Linked DNA regions of Homo sapiens: region 1 is linked to region 2. The links are contacts of gene promoters, found by promoter capture Hi-C in human tissues and cell types (Jung and others, 2019). All regions are on one chromosome and are shown on one strand. The core of a region is centred on a gene start or on the middle of the fragment in contact, and the rest is flanking DNA. Distances in the headings are between cores, read along the strand shown.

Region 1 (6,477 bases), core at 794-3,293, 180 kb after region 2:
GAAAGAATCTGTGCTCCAGTGCACCGTCTCCCCGTAGGACTGTGAGCTGCTCAAGGCAGGGTGGTAATGGAGTCACATCTGGGCAGCATGACGTGGAGCACCACTGATATTTGGGAGTCCATTTGGGACTGGATAATTTTTTGTTTTACAGACATTTAAACGAGTCTGCCTTTAGCATTCCTGGACCCTGGTCACTAAACCCCAACAGTGCCTCCTCATTCTTATAAAACCCTCCTCCCCACAAAAAAAAAAGCCCCAGACATTTCCAAATCTCCCAGGGTGGAGGGAACAGAGTGGAGTAGAAGTGGGCAGTACCACCCTTGGTTGAGAACCCAGTCTTTGGAATAAGATGGCTGAGGTTTCAAACCTTGTCTCTGCTCTCCCTAGCAGGGTGACCTCGGAGGTCTGGCTTCCTGATTCAGAACATTTACCCCAGAGAGTAATCAGGAAGATGAAACGAGCTAATGGACCCAAAGCACGAAGCTCCATGCCAACATGAGATGTTTTGATCAAGTAACTAATAAAAATAACAAATGAAATCCTGTCGCATTAAGAGTTGGCCCTAGTATGTTTACAGTAGGTGTTCCATAAATGTGGCTTTCTTCTTCTGCATTCTCAGCATCTACCTCAACAACCACATCAACAAAAACAAACATTTATTGGCTTACTTTTTATACATAAAGCATTTAGCAAAGAATTTGACACATTGCCCCATTTATTCCCACAACAGCCCTATGAGGTAGTTATATTATTGTCCCTATCTTACAAATGTGGGAACTGAGAGCAGAGATTGATTAACTGTAGCCTGTGGGCCAAATCCAGCCACTGCCCGTTGTTACTGGAACATAGCCTTGTTCATTCATTCATGTGTTGTCTATGGCTGCTGCCATTTACATTGAGTAGTTGCTTGCAGCAGAAACCATATATGGCCTGCATAGCCTAAAATATTCAGTGTCTAACCCTTTATAGGAAGAGTTTACTGACTTCTACTCTAGAAGGTTAATTTATAAGGTGACAAAACTAGTTATGGTGGAGGCATGAGTCCAACTCCGTTCAGTTTGATTCCAAAGCTCAGGCTCTTGGTTGTCACATACTCCCACTGGAGGCGGTGGATTTTCATTAAGTGGTCGTTAGACACTGAAATCGTAAAACATTTATTTTAAAATAGATTATGTTATATATTTGGTTTTTATTGTGGTAAAATGTCTGTAATGTAAAACATACCATTTAACCATTTTTAAGTGTACAGTTCACTGCCATTAAGTGCATTCACAATGCTGTACAACCATCACCATTATCCATTTCCAGAACTTTTTCATCATTCCAGACAGAAACGCTGTAGCCATTCCACAGTAACTCCCCATTCCCTCTCCCCCAGCCCCTAATAATCACTATTCTACTTTTGTCTCTGTGAATTTGCCTATTTTAGGTACCTAATGTAAGTGGACTCATAAAGATTTGTCTTTTTGTCTCTTATTCCATTTAGCATGTTTTCCAGGTTCATCTATGTTGTAAGATGTATCAGAATTTTATTCCTTTTTAAGGCAGAATAATGTCCCATTGTGTGTAGTGTCAGATGTTCCTCCATTTACTGTGGAGTTACTTCCCAATAAACCCACTGTAAAAGAAAAATATTGTAAGTCACAAATGCAATTAATACACCCAACTTACTGAACCTCATAGCTTAGCCCAGCCCACATTAAACATGGTCAGAACACTTACATTAGCCTACAGCTGGGCAATATCATCTAACACGAAGCCTATATTATAATCAGATGTTGACTATCTCATGTAATTTATTGAATACTGAAAGTGAAAATCAGAATGGTTATATGTGTACTTGAAGTACAGTTCCTGTTGAATGTGTATCACTTTTGCACCATTGTAAAGTCAAAAAATATTAATTCAAACCATTGTGGGGCAGGGCATGTTGGCTCACGCCTGTAATCCCAGCACTTTGGGAAGCCAAGGCAGGTGAGTCACCTGAGGTCAGGAGTTCAAGACCAGCCTGACCAATGTGGTGAAACCCCGTCTCTACTAAATACAAAAAATTAGCCATGGGTGGTGGTACATGCCTATAATCCCAGCTACTTGGGAGGCTGAGGCAGGAGAATCACTTGAACCTGAGAGGCAGAGATTGCATTGAGCCAAGATTGTGCCATTTACTCCAGCCTGAGCAACAAGAGCAAAACTTCATCTCAAAAAAAAAAAAAAAAAATACAACATCATAAGCTGGGGACCATCTGTGTTTGTTTTTGAATAGATAGTACATGCATAGAGTACAAAATTCAAAAGATGCAAAGGACCTAGAGTGAAGAGTGAATCTCTCTCCTATCCCTTCCCCCTCCAGGCCCCAGCTCCCCTCCCAAGAGACAACCAGTGTTACTGCATTCTTGTGTATCTTTTCTGAGAGGGTCTAAGCATGCTCAGCATCTAGGTTTCAATAGTATTTTTAAATATATTTTCACACAAGTATTACTACACCTGGCATATTGTTCCTGCATCTTTCTGATAACCTTTTTCTTTCTTGAGACAGGGTTTTGCTCTGTCACCAAGGCTGCAGTGTAGTGACACAATCATAGCTCACTGCAGCCTCGACCTCACCTACTCAAGCAATCCTCCCACCTCAGCCTCCCAAGTAGCTGAGAACACAAGTGTGTGCCATCACACCCGACTAATTTTTTTGCTTTTGTAGAGATGTGGTCTCACTATGTTGCCCAGGCTGGTCTCAAACTCCTGAGCTCAAGCCATCCTTCTGCCTGAGCTTCCCAAAGTGCTGGGATTGCAGGTGTGAGCCACTGTGCCTGGTGGCTCACACATTAAGTATTCTTAATAATATGTCTTGCAGATTGTTTTGTATCATTATATCTAGAGCTATCTCACTCAACAACTGCATATAATCCCACTGCATGAATGTATCATGATTTATTTATCTGGTCATTATAAGTAGACATTTAGGTTGTTTTTAATCTTTTTCAGTTATGAACAGCTCTATAGTGAATGTTCTTTTCATTTTTTGTTGTTTTTGAGATGGAGTTTCACTCTGTCGCCCAGGCTGGGGTGCAGTGGCATGATCTCAGCTTGCTGCAACTTTTGCCTCCTGGGTTCAAGCGATTCTCCTGCCTCAGCCTCCTGAGTTGCTGGGACTACAGGTGCGTGCCACCACTCCCAGCTAATTTTTTATTTTTAGTAGAGACGGGGTTTCACCATGTTGGCCAGGCTGGTCTCGAACTCCTGACCTCAGGTCATCTGCCCACCTTAGCCTCCCAAAGTGCTGGGATTACAGGTGTGAGCCACTGCGCCTGGCCTCTTGTCATGTTTTTAAGATTAGTTCTTAAAGCCAGTGTAGTAGAAGATGAAGCATGTTTCTCACCCTCTCCATGTTGGACTGCATTTTTCAGGGAAATTGTGCTATCTGGAGAACCATATTTGGCTCAGAGGATCAGGAGTGCTTGGATCCTACCCTGGTCTAACTCCTCCCTTCCCCACATCTGGGCCAATGAGAGATGGAGGAAAAAAAGCAAGGAACAACTCATTCTTGGGCTGAAAGCCTAAGGATGTGGTCATTGGAGGACAAAAAGCAAGGAACAACTCATTCTTAGAGGGGCTGAAAGCCTAAGGCCATGCTCATTGGAGGACAACCCTTCCTCTAACCCAGAGTTTCTCTTTGACTTTTTTCTTTTCTTTTTTTTTTTTTGAGACTTAAGTCTTGCTTTGTCACCCAGGCTGGAGTGCAAGGGTGCAATCTCAGCTCACTGCAATCTCCGGCTCTCGGGTTCAAGTGATTCTTGTACCTCAGCCTCCTAGGTAGCTGGGACTATGGGCACCTGCCACCACACTTGGCTAATTTTTGTATTTTTGGTAGAGATGGGGTTTTACCATGTTGGCCAGGCTGGTCTCAAACTCTTGACCTCAGGTGATTTGCCTGCCTCAGCCTCCCAAAGTGCTGGGATTACAGGCATGAGCCACCGCACCTGGCCTCTCTGACATTTTGGACTAGATAGACCTTTTTTCTATCTAGTTCTTTACCTCAATGTAGAGGTCACAATGTCAGGCTAAGGCTTTCTAATAAAGCTTCTGGTTGTCATGTAGTGGGAGAGAGGAGAGCTGAAATCAGTATTGTGAGATATGGCTGAAATGTCTGCTGTAGCTCCAGGTGAGAGAGGCCCAAGACCTAGCATGGGAACAAAACCTCCCAAGATCTGGCAAGCCAAGCAAGTTTCTGCTTTCTTGATGTTCCTCTCTGATGCATAAAGATCACAGCTTTTGCCAGCCAAGGTGGCTCATGCCTGTAATCCCAGTACTTTGGGAGGCTGGGGCAGGAGGATTGCTTGAGCCCAGGAGTTTTGGACCAACCTGGGCAACATGGCTAGACCCCATCTCTACAGTAAAAAAATACAAAAATTAGCCAGGCATGATGGCGTGCACCTATAGTCCCAGCTACTCGGGAGGGTGAGGTGGGAGGATTGCTTGATCCTGGGAGGCAGAAGTTGCGGTGAGCTGAGATCACACCACTGCACTCCAGCCTGGGAGACAAAGTGAGACCCTGTCTCAACAAAACAAAAGAAAACACCTTTGAAAAGAGATGGGGTAAAAAAGATCACAGAACAAAGAGTTAAAAAAAAAAAACAGATTGTTCTTTAATTAAGAACAACTAGGGCTGGGCAGAATTGAAGCTGTTTCCCCTGCCAGATGATTGGACACCTTGCCTTTTAGGAGCAGGGTCTGGATGGGAGTGGGGGAAAAGCTTCCTTCAAAACCAACTTTCAGAGAGTTGGATGCTTTTTGGAGAGGACTGAATTTGGATTAGGCATTCATATTTATTTCTGCCCTTTGCAGTCATGTCATGCAAGCTAAATCGTTTCTTAAAACCAGTATTTCCACCCCTTCCAAAAGGAACTTTATCATGTAAACTGAGCGCCTGCAATCCAACCCTATAATGACTTGATTCGTCCTGGGAAAGCTCCTGCCTTTAATCCTTTTCTCCCTCATCTCCTGGTGCCAGGAAGGGCCCCCACAGGACCCTCCCAGGTCTGGAGGTGTTCCTCACTGTCACTCTCTCCTCCTCACATCACCTGCTGGCCCCGAGGCCTTCTCAGTGATGGGGAGGGTTTGGCTAGAGCCTTAGCGGGAGGAAGCCAGGAGATGCTTCCCTAGGTCAATCCCTGGGCAGGCCCCACTTCCTTCATTTCCTCATTCGTTCATCCAGTTAACACATGCTTAGTGCTTCTCATATGCCAAGCACTGTGCTCTGCACTTCACTCTGTGAGCTCTGATAATAGGGACTAGTATTAGTTTTCATTTATGGATGAGGAAATCAAGGCTCAGAGGGGTTAAGTCACTTGCCTGAGACCACATGGTTAATGAGTGGCTTTGCTGTACTGGGGACCTAGAGTCTGAATCCAGCCAAGCGACTTCCAATGCCAAGCTCACACCAGATCCACACTCGGAGCAGAGGAAGCCACATTGCAGCGGAAAACAAGGGCTTCCTGGAAGTGGTATGTGGCCTGAGGCCAGGAAAGACCAGGCTGGGAGAGGGCTACTGACTGCTTACTGTAATCAGCTTCAGATTTTCGGCATCAACAAGGCAGAACCCCAGTGAGACAGGCCAGGGTGACAGGAGGCTCTTTGGTGACCCTGGATGGGCTCTGCTCATGGGGATTTGATCCCACCATTAGTTTTTGAGCTCTTGCCACATGCCAGACACAGGCCCTGCCCCAGGAATCCCACATATTATCATGTGCCATGGCCTGGGTCTCGGCTATGGCTTCAGTGGCTCATGTTCCCCTCTTCCTGGACACCCATCTTGGACGATCCTACAGCCTCAGGCCAAGGCATCCCCAGAATCCCCCCAAGCTTCTGGGCCCCTGCCTGGCAAGACTGATGCTGATCAGAGTCCTGCCCCATCCCCCTGCTCCCAGTCCAGGCCAGGGATGGCTTCTATTTACCTGGGTCTTCCCCGAGCTCAGCTGAGCTCCAGCTCATAGTGAATCACATGTTGGGAATCAGCTGAGAGCTGGCCCTGAAGATCCCTGAATAATGCATCAAAGCCCTTCTCCCCTGCAGAGCCATTAGGGTGGGGGTGAGGGGGATAATGCAGAGGAGTCAGTGTGTTTCCCACCCCAGGAAGAATACTAGGGTTCCAAAGGCCTTTGCCCTGGTGTGCATGGGCTTGAGACTCAAAGGTCCACAGGACTGGGTGACCCAGTACATAGGTAAACCAAGGCGGGTTTCGGATGACTACAAAACCAGTACATCCTCCAAAAGAGGGCAAAGGAGGTTCAGCTTCCAAATATTCAGACTTTTGCCATTGGAAACTTTAAGAAAACAAAACAACATTTTATTTTTAGCATCCATATAAAAGTTGTATTGCATGGTTTATGGTTTTGTTTTTATTTTGAATTTTCTCCCCTGTGCAGAAGCACCAAAGCATCTTCAGTGCTAAGACCTGGAAAAGTCGAAGTCCCTCCTGGAGAT
Region 2 (6,045 bases), core at 1,368-3,867:
GATCACGCCACTGCACTCCCGAGTGACAGAGTGAGACCCTGTCTCAAAAAATAAAAAGGCCTTAAAAGTGTTTATTCTCTTATACCTAGTAATATGATGCTGAGCAGTTTTAAACACATAAAGTGCACGAAAGATTTATGTATGAGGATATTATTATTTTTTTTTTTTTTTGAGACGGAGTCTCGCTCCGTCGCCCAGGATGGAGTGCAATGGCGCGATCTCGGCTCACTGTAAGCTCCGCCTCCTGGGTTCACACCATTCTGCTTCAGCCTCCCGAGTAGCTGGGACTCTAGGTGCCCGCCACCATGCCCGGCTAATTTTTTTGTATTCTTAGTACAGACGGGGTTTCACCGTGTTAGCCAGGATGGTCTCGATCTCCTGACCTTGTGATCCGCCTGCCTCGGCCTCCCAAAGTGCTGGGATTACAGGCGTGAGCCACCGCGCCCGGCCGAGGATATTCTTTAAAACAAGGAAATGGTCACTTAAAGTGAAAAAGGCAATTTACAAAGTACATTTTTTTTTTTCTTTTTTGAGACAGTATTGCTCTGTCATGCAGGCTGGAGTGCAGTGGTGCGATCTCGGCTCACTGCAAACTCCATCTCCCAGGTTCAAGCGATTCTCCTACCTCAGCCTCCTAGGAGCTGGGATTACAGGCGCTAGCCACCACGCACGGCTAATTTTTGTCTTTTTAGTAGAGATGGGGTTTCACCATGTTATCCAGGCGGGTCTCAAACTCCTGAACTCAAGTAAGCCACCTCCATCGGCCTCCCCAAATGCTCGGATTACAGGCGTGAGCCACCACACCCTACCAAATACTATATTTCAGAAGAATTCAGGGAGTGGAAATGCACATACCAAAGAGGGCAGTTGTGGATCCAATAGCCCTGCCTCCAATTCTCACAATTTCCAGATTCAATCTTAATTCCCATTCCCTCATCCCAAGAGAAGTAGAGAAAGACCAGTAGAGCTGGAATAATGACAGGTGGAAATAACTCAGAAGCCACTCAAGGCAAAAAGCATGCAGAGGGGCCTAAGGGAGCCAATAGGATTCCAATTCTGGTTACAGAAAAATCCAAGTCAAAATCACTCTTTGACAATCTAAAGGAATGAGATATTAATTATGTTCCCCTGGGGTTGTGAAAAACAGCCCTGCCTTTTGGAGATTAGAAGTGAAGCAGGTAAGAACCATATCTAAAGCAGGAGAAGAAGCTTCCCTCAGTAGGTGGTTGATAGGGGTCTGGGAATCATCCAAGTTAATCAGGGTGACTATAGATAATCCGAGTGTGTTATATCCTGACAGAAAACAAAGGGTGGATGTGCATTGGCAAAAACAAAATAAGAAACCAATTTGCAGGCATGAGTGGACCAGTACCCAGGACTCTCTTCCAGTAGCCTACAGTAGATAGAGGGCTCTGACTTATCGGAGAAGTCCTGCTTGGCTGGAGAAGGGCATCAAGCTGTTTATCAGCGCCTCATGCCCTTAACAGTTAAGACCATCCAACTAACCTGGCTGTTACTCCATGAATCTCGTGCAGCTTTCTGAAAATCATGGGGTCTCTGCGGACTTTCCTGCAGAAAGAGAGCCCACTGATTCCACTACCTAGATAAAGGCGTGGTGGTGGGCCCCTGTAATCCCAACTACTCGGTGTAAGAATTAAAGAAAGAGGAAAGAAACACGAAAAGTGGCTTGGTGGTCATAAGAGGTTTATTTTAGAGAAAACCTGAGAGGGGCGTCTGGCCAAGTTAGGTCAGAGGCACACTCTCTTACAGACTAAGTAAGTTTTTAAGGATTCGGAGTGGGAGAGTTTATCAGAGGCTTGGACTGCTTCTGTGTCTCTTTGTTGTGCTTATCTCGGAGGGAGAGTTGTGTGTCTGTTCCCATACATCTTTCTGCAGCTGCAGACATACCCCCTGAGTCTAATTTTTGTATTTTTAGTAGAGAGGGGTTTCACCATGTTGGCCAGGCTGGTCTCGAACTCCTGACCTCAGGTGATCCTCCCGCCTCGGTCTCCCAAATTTCTGGGATTACAGGCGTGAGCCATCTGCGCCCTGCCTAAACTGTTCGGGTTCTAACATTCCAGCATCCTCCTGCGGAACGCAGCCAGGCCTTACTCAGGCCTTCCAATCAGGACCCTTACAGTTCCTGGGGCTGGGATTGCGAGTCTCTCTGGGGCCACGCTTTCTAAGCGTATCACTTCCAGGATACGTGCCTCCAACAGAAGGAATGAAGGCTAGGAAACAAAAACGTGGATGCGGGTGAGGAGCTGTCAGTGTTACCGCCACGACAACGTGGACCCTGCGAAACTCGGAGGTGCCACTCAAGAGCCGAAAGCCTGCCCACTCGGGGTGGGGCGGCAACCCGGAGAGCCAATCAGGAATAAGGAGTCCGGTTCATGAAAAGGTAGCCGGATTCTGACTGGGATACTCACTGTGAGAAGGCTGGGCGGAGTTGCAGAAAGTCAACAGAAGCCGAATCTCTGAATTTCTGTTCGCAGCCTCCTAGGCGGGGCCGGGAAAAAAATCCAGTAGTCTGCGCTGACTGGGCGGCGAGGGACCGGGAGGAGCCAATCAGAAGTCAGGACTCGCGGGGCTTGGAGGAGGGGCGCGGGCGCTGCGGCCCCTGCTCTACCTCCTAGCGCCGGTGCGCGGCCGAGGCCGCACTACCTGTCTGCGGGAAAGCGGGATCCACCCCAGGACGTCGGGTCGCTGCCGGTGAGCCAAGGAGGGGGAAGCAGAGACGAGCCCTGCGTCCCCGCTGCGGGAGTCGGGGTCGCCCCCGAGGGCAGGGAGGCTCGCTGCAAGTGTGGAGCCGGGAGTCCTATGCCTCAGGCTCCTCCAGCCCGCGCTATCCTCAGCTCGCTGCGTGCGTGATGGGCAAGTCACCCTTCTTCCCGGACCTCACCTGTAACCTAGGAGGGCTGAGCTGGGCCCCCAGAATGAAAGCGTGGCACCCGAGAAGCTGTCGAGGCCAGCCCTCCCGGGTCTGTGTGGGGTCGCTGGCCGAGGGCTGTGCCGGCGCCTGGCCGGTGTCTACTGGGAGCAGTCTCTGAGCTCCGCTGAACCTCACTTACTCATGCGCCCTCCTCCTCTCTTTTCCTGCCTCTTGGTTCAGCAGCCCCTCTGCAGCCCGCTCACCCACCACTTTTTCCCCTTCACCCACCAGGAAGACCCTTAAAAGCACCTAGTAATGCACTGTTGTCTTTGAAAAACTGCAGATGCTAGATTCCCCACCTTTCTGTTTCATGATCCCCTTGGGGTTGAACTGCCCCGTGAGTCTGTGGAATGAAGGTCACCCTTGGTTCACCATTTAATATTAAATAAGGGACTAGCCTAGGGGCTGAGAATACAGAGATTGACTGGGTATAATCCCTTGGAAGGACGCAGCAAAAGGGAATGTAGGAGAAGAAAGGTAGAGTTGGAAGACATGCTAAGGTAGAATTTACTAGACTTTGTTACACGTTGGGAGTGAGGGACAGGAAAGAATCAAGAATGACTCCTGTTTCTTGTCTGGTATACTTTGCACAAAGTACAGAGCTTAAGTTCCAGCCCCCTCCCGGCTGCAGGACAAAGGTGGTGAGATTCTGACGCAGATCTTGGAGTTGGAAATCACACTTGCTTCCTGCGGGCTTTTTCAGGAGCTAAATACTGTTGGCCGGATATATAGACCAACAGCCTATAGTACCTGAATTCCTCCTCTCCCTTTCAATGAAGTAGGAAAAAAAGTTAATAATTTTTAAAAATGTGTGAGTGGGCAACATAGCGAGACACTGTCTCTAAAAAAATAAAAATAATAAAATCAAAAAGACAGCCATGATGGCTTGCACCTGTAATCCCAGCACTTTGGGAGACCAAGGTAGGAGGATTGCTTGAGCCCAGAAGTTCGAGACCAGCCTGGGCAACATAGTGGGACCCTCTCTCTCCAAAAAAAAAAAAAAAAAAAAGGCCAGGCATGGTGGCACCTGCCTGCAGTCCCAGCTATTTGGGAAGCTCAGGTGGGAGGATCCCTTGAGCCCAGGAGTTGGAAGCTGCAGTAAGCAGTGATTGTGCCACTGTACTCCAGACTGGGTGACAGAGACCTTGTCTCAAAAACAAAAAAAAAAAAATTCCCCTCCATACAAAGGAGACATTTGGTTAAGACAGACATGTCTGATAAACATATTTTTTTCTTTGTTTTTATTTACTCTCAAGAGTTGACTTGATCTGTGCCATTAGTTCTATGATATGGAGCGCTTATATAAAGAAAAAAGGCGAACTTAAAGAACTTTAGTGGCATGGAATACTAGAGCTAGAGGAGACTTTTAGTAATAATCTAATCCAACTCTGTTTTAGAGGAGACATGACTAGTCCAGAGTTTCAGAGGTTAGGTAGCAGAACTGGGACTAAAATATGTCCTATTTCTCCCAGCACAGCCTTTTATTACATCAGTCTATTTGGATGGCCAGAGCTAACAACCTTGCTTTACATGGCTATGGAAAACAGCGCTCTCCTAAGAGGAGCTTAACAAGTCAAAGATTGTATGGGAACATCTGGAATAGAAAGGAGATTGGCCTTCACCAGTTGCCTCTAAGGTTCCTTACAACTTTAAGAACTTATCATTCATTTCAAATTCAGAATTGTTCTGACATCGTTAACGCTTTGGGAGTTGAAAATGACTCCAGGATTTCATCTTGGAGTTAATGCTTCAGTCCATATTGCATTTTGAATACTTACCTTATACCAGTTTACATATCTCCAGAAAGAATGTTAAAATTCCTTGTAAAGTTTTAAGCCTAAATACAGTGTGACAGGATATGTTGGTTCCCAGAAGTTTCAAGTGCAAAGATTGTTTTGAAACTCCATTTAGGCTTTGTCACAGTACCTTCAGTGAACAAAATCTGAACGGCTTAACTTGCTTCTGAAAGCAAATGCCTGGTTAGAAAGTAAACAGGAAACATGATTGTCAAGAAGGCATTAACTTGCAGTAACAGGTGATGGAAACCGATCAGTGGCACAAGCTATGCAAGTTAAGAGGCTGGAGCAATCACTTTGGGTAGGAGGATCAGGGAAGGCCATGGCAGGGGCTAGGGGGTGGTTAGCGTTTGAGGGTTACCTCTCCCTTATTTTCTCTTCTCTTTTTTTTTCTTTCTTTCTTTTCTTTCTTTCTCTCTCTCTCTTTCTTCTTTCTTTTCTTTCTTTCTTTCTTTCTTCTTTCTCTTGCTCTCTCTTCTCTCTTTTCTTTCTTTTCTTTACTTTTCTTTCTTTTTGATGGAATTTTGGTCTTTCGCCCAGGTTGGAGTGAAGTGACGCAGTCTCATCTCACTGCAACCTCCACCCCTCTGGGTTCCAGTGATTCTCCTGCCGCAGCCTCCTGAGTAGCTGGAATTATAGGCGCCGGCCACCATGCCCGGCTAATTTTTTTTTTATTTTTATTTTTATTTTTAGTAGAGATGGGGTTTCGCCATGTTGGCCAGGCTGGTCTCAAACTCCTGACCTCAGGTGATCCACCCACCTCAGCCTCCCAAAGTGGTGGGATTACAGGCGTGAACCACTGTCTTTACCTACCCTTATTTTAACTTGAGTCATCAGGCCATAGTCCTAGGACTGAGGCAGGGAGGGGGTCATATAGGAGATTTCTGGTATATCTCCCTGAATGTTATCCCCTTTCCCTCACTGGAGTTAGGTGGGTTTTTGCTATGATACAGCCAAATAAATTAGGCATTAACAGGCATATGGTCTGATTTTTAGAGTTCCAAGAAAGTCCTAAGATCCACCTCCTCTGTCCTAGCCAATTTCTCAGAAGCGCTCTTTCTTTTTTAGAGGTAAATTTTACATTCAGTGATATTCACAGATCTTACTAGTTTACTTAGGTTTTAAGTTAAGTTTTGACAAATGTAAGCCATGTCGCCAAAGCCTAATCAAGATGTAGAACACTTGCCTCTCAGAAAGTTCTCTCATGCCCCTTCCCTGTCAGAAGCAATACATCTTCCACTTTCCACAAAAGCTAACTCTTCATGAGATTCTTTTTTTTTTTTTTTTTTTTTTTTTTAAATAGAGAAGCGGGTCTCA

Evidence for each region. The method cuts DNA at HindIII sites, captures the fragments that hold promoters and counts their contacts. A contact is called where the count stands out against the background at its distance.
Region 1: a fragment that was not itself captured here is called in contact with the fragment with the promoter of HYKK in region 2 in 1 of the 25 tissues and cell types used here (pancreas).

Annotation. Positions count from the first base shown.
Region 1 is chr15:78,686,263-78,692,739 of GRCh38, forward strand. LOC105370913 (a long non-coding RNA gene) reads right to left here. Exons shown (of 3, transcript XR_932509.2): 3 at 6,314-6,477. Among named protein-coding and RNA genes, the nearest start is that of CHRNB4, 48 kb to the left of the region's middle. The HindIII fragment of the contact is 4,734 bases long and covers 1-4,410 here.
Region 2 is chr15:78,504,960-78,511,004 of GRCh38, forward strand. HYKK (hydroxylysine kinase) reads left to right here and starts at 2,618. Exons shown (of 5, transcript NM_001013619.4): 1 at 2,618-2,712. The HindIII fragment of the contact is 18,918 bases long and covers 1-6,045 here.